Regions from separate parts of the Homo sapiens genome. Here region 1 is linked to region 2. Evidence: promoter capture Hi-C in human tissues and cell types (Jung and others, 2019). All regions are on one chromosome and are shown on one strand. The core of a region is centred on a gene start or on the middle of the fragment in contact, and the rest is flanking DNA. Distances in the headings are between cores, read along the strand shown. Region 1 has its middle 21 kb from the start of PRB2. Region 2 holds the start of PRB4 (proline rich protein BstNI subfamily 4).

Region 1 (3,330 bases), core at 618-3,117, 65 kb after region 2:
GGTGCATTTACAATCATCTAGCTAGTCAGAAAAGTTCTCCAAGTCCACAGTGGACCCAGGAAGTCCACCTGGCATCACTTCTCAGTAATGTGAAAGCCTAATGATTTACCATGAGAACTCTCATATAATTGCCCTGTTTGATAAGAGAAATGAGCAGGAGGAAGGTTGTGGTGAAGGACTCTGCTGAAGCTTTCCCAGGGATTCATCTAGTAAAGCTTTGACTTTCTCAAAATATTCTCAGAATAAGGAGATACTGTCATTCTCCAGAAAGTCAACCAGCAAAATGACTTGAGCTTTCCAATAAACTCTTGCCAAGATCTTTGTGCTCTCCTCATCCACTTTTGTTTTGACTGGACATTTCCGCCTCTTGGTAGCCATTGCTTTGATTGTATTTGTTTTCTGGATTTTACTGGTAAAGTCATGTGTTATCTCCTCTTATAATTCATTGAAGAAATGCTTATGGTCTTCGTTCTTCCTATTTAAATTTTTAGGGAAAGTTCTGCTCTTGTCTGTACTTGATCTTGGTGACACAGTTTGGGCATCCATTAAGTGAAAAGCTTACTAAACTTTAATCATTCAGTTAGATTCATGTAAACTGAACCAACTGAGAAGTCTGCAGTGTTGGTTATTGTGTGAGCTGCTAATCATCACACCTCTTCTCCTGGGTATAAAGAAGATGAATTTATTCCTTGCAATATGATGTGAATCATCTGTCACGATAAGCTTTAGGTTCAACATTGCCTCATTCCTTCTTGAAATGAACTCCTCATTGAATTTGTGAACTGCTGACTTCTTCAACCAATGTCAACTTACCACGTGTCAAGTAGGACAACTCTTTGGACACCATCAATGATTTTGCCTTCCTCCACCCAAGCTTCACCATAAATTTGATGTTTATACTCACTTTAATTTTAGAAAAATTCATGTTGGTCTTCTAGGGGCTCTTTTGAAACTGCTCTTATTTTTCTTGATGCCTCATACTAGCTCCTGTTCAGACATGTTATAGCAAAAGATTATGATTTCATTTTGGTGCCAAAACATTGGAATCCATTCATGGTGTTTCTTAATAGGATATACCTTTTCCTTCAACATTTGAACAACCCACTGCATATAGGAAGGCATCCTGATACAATAAGCTCTACTAGAGGTAACTTAGAATTTTGCAGCTGACTAGGCAGATTGCTGTCTTGTTTTTCTCTTAGGATAAATAGGGATGTTTTCTGAAGATGGAATATAATACCAGTGGCCAAATATTCTCCAGTTACATAGAAAGTTTAACATTTGTAACTGAGATTCACATTCTTTCAGAGAGACACAGAGTGCTTGGGCCAATCTGGTGTCCTGATGTTATTGAATGATTTTCTCTGGTTTCACCAAACATTGTTTGAAAAGGAAGCTGTTGATGGGCAGTCTGGCCTAGGTAGCTTATGGTGGCCCATCAGGAAGGAAAGAAACGCAAGAGAGAAGAAGCAGAGGGGAGAGCCAGGCAGATGTGACTCCTTGTGGGAATCAGTGGGGAAGCTGCAGTCCTGGTTAGAGACAGACTTCTCCTTGTCTGCTGAGTACAGCAAGGCAAGAGGTGATCCTTCCAAATATCACTCAACTCATGCCCTGACCTTCTCCTATGTCAGAAATGAGTGAAAGAGATTAGCATATCAGGAAGGACTAAATATCAGATATCAAGCTACCAGAGACAAGCAAAATAGAGGTTACCAAAGAACTGATGGAGACAGTGTCACTGATTTAGGATGGGGTAAAAGCAAGGAGCAAGATGGCAACAAAAGCTTAGGCATTTGTCCATGAGTCAAGGACGTCAGCAATCCACTTGCCATTTAAAATAATGTAACCATACCGTTTACATTACACTCCTGCACTAAGCAGGACTCTTAATTTCTGCCTCCTAAAACCTGCTCTCCCCTGAATTTCTTCATTATACCTGTCCAAGCAAAATATCACAGACTAATATTCTTAAGCAACAGAAATTATTTTCCGACACTTCTGGATGCTCAAGTTCCACGGTGAATGTGTCAGCAGGTCCAGTTCTTCTTGGCCCTGTCTACTTGGCATCTAGATATCACCTTCTTGCTGTGTCCTCCCATGGGGCTGCGTCTGTGCCTACGTACTTCTTGTGTCTCTCTGTGTGCAAATTTCCAGTTCTTATAAGGAATTTCCACTTTTTCTAAGGACATTCATCTTATTGGATTTAGTTCCACTGAAACTCCCTCATTTTAGCTTGATCACCTCTTCTTAGGGCTATTTTCTGAACACAATCATATTCTAAGGAACAAGAGGTAGGTTGGCTGTGGAGTTTTGTATACCTATGCCTATCATATTTCGCTAAATATTTGATTATATAGAGGTTATGTCTTTAGAACTTTGAGCTATGTGCAGACAACACAAACCTGGCCATTCATGGCTGACAGAAGGTTGGCCCTCAGCCCGGTCGGACCCACACAGATTGTCCAATATTCCTTGGATCTGGCTCCGATCAGAAAAGTCTCGGTGTTTTAGGATACAGGTGTCTTAACGAATTCTATTATTAATATTCGTGGAGAGGTTAAAACAAAGTTGGACACAAAATCTACCAGAGGTTTCTAGAAATGAACAGAATGAATAGAAGTTCTTGAATGAGCCATCCTACTTCATGTCTTTAAGAATTTTTTCTTGCTCTTCCCCTTTATTAGAATGTTTGATCAGATACAGTTTGGACTTTATGTCTTACAAGATTATATATATATAAATATAGGCTCTCGCTCTGTCACCCAAGCTGGAGGGTGGTGTCCTGATCATGGATTCCAGCATCCTAGAACTCCTGTGCTCTTGGGATTCCCCCCACTTCAACCACTTGAGTAGCTTGAATTACAGGTTCATGACACCCACCATGCCCGTTTATTATTTTTTAATTTATTTAAAAATTTTTTGAAGAGATGGATCCACAATTTGTTGCTCAGGCTGGTCTTAAACTCCTGGCCTCAAGGGATCCATCCAACTCACCCTCCCAAAGTCCTGGGATAACAGACATGAGTCACTACATTCAGTTATTCTTCTAGGAAAAATTTTTAATCACTCCCACTTACAATGAGTGGCCACAATTATATATCCCAATAAGATAGTCAGGAACCCACATAAAAGCCTCAAGGGTATTGCACTGATCTATTTCTTAGTACATGTGCTGTCTCCCAGATTCTTCTTCCAAACAGAAATTTTTTTTATTTTTGCAATATTCTGAAACTAATTTCTCAAGACTCGCTTTCTAAAATGTATTTGTTGACATTTTCTGTTCTAAATAATCTTCCCTGTGTTTATTTTTCATCTTATGTCTGGCTTCTT
Region 2 (3,191 bases), core at 513-3,012:
GGGTGGTCTTTCTGGCTTTCCTGGATGAGGTGGGGGACCTTGGGACTGGTTGCCTCCTTGTGGGGGTCGTCCTTCTGGCTTTCCTGGAGGAGGTGGGGGACCTTGGGACTGGTTTCCTCCTTGTGGGGGTGGTCCTTGTGGCTTTCCTGGAGGAGGTGGGGGACGTTGGGGCTGGTTTCCTCCTTGTGGGCGTCGTCCTTCTGGCTTTCCTGGAGGAGGTGGGGGACATACGGCATTCACTGAATAGTTGCCACAAATTTTTACAGTAATGGAGCTAAATGGGGAAATGCACAAAAATGAGACCCAGATACTAATTTCTTTGCATTTTCAGTGAAGCCCTAGAACTCTGGAGTGGAACGCTGGGGGAAAAGGGAGAAGTTGAGGGGCTCTCAGTCTAAGGAGGAGTCAGAATAAGGACACTGGCCATTTGTCTGTCATCTCCCAGGAGGCACTCCTGGCCAGGGGGATGTCAACCCACTCCTGTTGTCATCTAAGCCAAGCATCTCTGACATTCCATTTGGTGGCCTGCTCATGGTCCCCAGAATCAAGTTTGCATGAAGATTGCCTATATCATTAGGGGCAATAACATTAATCAATTCCTGAAAGGAAAGTGTTGATAAGAAGACACTGGAGAAATGATCCATTTGTAAGCAGAAAAAGGGAGTCAAAACAGATTGAGAATGAATTGGGATTTACCTGATATTAGGAAGAGAGATTCTTCCTGGCTGACATCTAGAAGAGAAGCACAGGATGATGGGAAATGTTACATCTCAAATCTTCAAGACTCACAAGTGTTCTACAGGGAAAATTGTCTTCTCACCACACCCCATGCATCCCCTAGGTTAACTCATCAGCCACCATCTGTGAAGGTGCTGGAAGGGGTGGAAGGTGTAAGAGGAGGCAGGGTTGTTACCACACAGAGCAACAGCAATGAGTTCAACATAGAACAGCCCCTTTTTTTCCTCCCTAGCATCCCTCAAGACTTAATGCTTATTTAGTTTATGCATGCCAGGTACTTCAATGTGATATTTTGGTGTTCTTATGCCCTCCATCTCCTGTTAATATATTGCATACATACACATGTTTTCTCAATAGGGGTAACCAGAAGTAATCATTTCAATACAATCTAACCCATTCCACTCCCAGCACATTGAAATACTGCATGTAGGGGAGAGAAAAATTGTAATGATTGGCTCTGATATTTCTACATCTTTAGTTAGACAGAGACAAGTGTTCTATCCAGTTCTGTCTCTGCAGTATCTCTGATGTGTATGTATCTCTATCATCAATGCCGACTGTCTGTACAGCAAGGCCACCATCATCCCTGTGTACTTACTGGGATCAGTATAGGATCTTCACAGCTGGACTTCCCTGAATCTGCCTTGCACTCTCCACTGCAGCCTTCACAGCACAGTTCTATCTCTATAAATTCAAATCTTACCTTCTCATTCCCCTGGAACAAATTCGTTATTGGATTTCATTGTACATTAAATAAATTAGAAGTCCTTATTGTGGAATGAGGGCACAACAGGTCTCCTGATCCTAGGCATGAAAACTCTGCAGCCCCATCTGTGTTTTCATTCTCCTCTCTTCCCCATAATTACCACTGTCACCTCCTAAGTCCCAAGCAGTCACCGCATCTTTTCCCCCTTCTGTTTTACCTTCACTTGAACTCTCAGCTGAGCTCAGGGCCAGCAGGGCCACTGACAGCAGAATCAGCAGCATCTCGCTGGAGGCTCTGGAGTCACTCCCAACTCTGTGCTGGGAGGAACGTGGCAACTCCCTTTATAAAGAGGAGCAAAACAATGGCACCTTTGAGCCCTGGGTGGGCCTCACCACCTCAGAGACTGGGTTCTGCTTTCCTTACTGCAGGTCAGGTGTATCCCTTATTTCTCTTTGGGACTCTAGCCCAGAGGGATGGGGTGGGTTGGATGTTGTTTGTGCCTTATTTCTAAAAGGTACGACTATGACTTGAATAAAGGTTCTAAAGGAACTGTGTCCAAGCTATCAGCACTGTGTCATAATTGAACTTCAGACATCATTAGAGTTTCAATCCTTTTGGTAAGACTATGTCTGCTTTCCACTCTACTATTTATTTCTGTGTAATATTTGTGGGGGCAGTGAAGCTACAGCCAGCAGTGAAGATGGTCAATTTCTCTGGCTCTTTATAGAGCCTATTTCCATCTCTTGTGATGTGTGTGTACAGATAGTATCACAATTGGCTAAAGTTTTGATGCGATAGAGATGGTTTCTGTTACCTGTGTGATGGTGTGAAGACAACACACTCCTGGGCACACATAGATGACAGAAAGCTGCCCCACAGCCTGCTCGGGCTACAACTATTGTTCAAGCTTCTGTGGATCTGACTCAGCTCAGGCAAGGCTTGTTGTTGTGCCACACAGGAAGGCCAAAATTGTGTATTTTAAAGTACCTTTAGGGGTTATTAATGCAAAATGTACACAGAAACCATAAGGAAATTTCTAGATCTGAGAAAACTGAATACATAATTCCTTGCGGGAGCCATGCGATATCATGTTGCCAAAACTTCCTTCATGCTCTTCCCTTTGTCCAGAATATTCTATAATATTCACCCTCTGCTTCATTTCTTTTAATAATTGTATTGAATTCCTACCACTTATAATTAAGTGGCTACAATTCTACATTCAAATAGGATAATCAGATACCCTCGTTAAAGCCTAAATTGCATTATATTGGTATTCTTGGTTTAGTCAGTATTTGTGTTACCTGTTTTCTCAGATTGTTCTTCCACAAAGAGTATTTTTCTATAATATTCTGATATGCATTCCTCCCCACCTTCTTTCTGGTTCTTCTTTGTTCATATTTTATTTTCTGAGTCAAGCCCATTATGTGTATTTTTCTTTATGTATCTGGCTTTTTTCCCCATGAATTTGGTGAGATTTCCTTTATTTAATCTTCTAAGTATTAGGATATAGTACTTACCATCTTTGTTTCATTCTTGTCTGTGTAATTTCATAATACGTGTTGTGTTTCCAAAAAGCCCTATCAGAGACCTGCATTGTTAGCACTTCTTTCAGCTACTGATTCTTCGTTATATCTGATAAATACCTGCTTATCAGTTCATGGAATATACAGGTTACTCAGTATCAACAGCTGCCATTTACCACTTAGACCTTCCATGTGTCTTGTGTAATTGTTCACATTTTGTGCAT

What was found. Contacts are between HindIII fragments. The study calls those that stand out against the background at their distance.
Region 1: a fragment that was not itself captured here is called in contact with the fragment with the promoter of PRB4 in region 2 in 2 of the 25 tissues and cell types used here (adrenal gland and pancreas).

The regions. Positions count from the first base shown.
Region 1 is chr12:11,373,151-11,376,480 of GRCh38, forward strand. No RefSeq gene overlaps it. Among named protein-coding and RNA genes, the nearest start is that of PRB2, 21 kb to the right of the region's middle. The HindIII fragment of the contact is 3,954 bases long and covers 1-3,330 here.
Region 2 is chr12:11,308,674-11,311,864 of GRCh38, forward strand. It overlaps PRB4 (proline rich protein BstNI subfamily 4), which reads right to left and starts at 1,763. Exons shown (of 4, transcript NM_002723.6): 1 at 1,662-1,763; 2 at 697-732; 3 at 1-209. The coding sequence starts at 1,725. The HindIII fragment of the contact is 9,974 bases long and covers 1-3,191 here.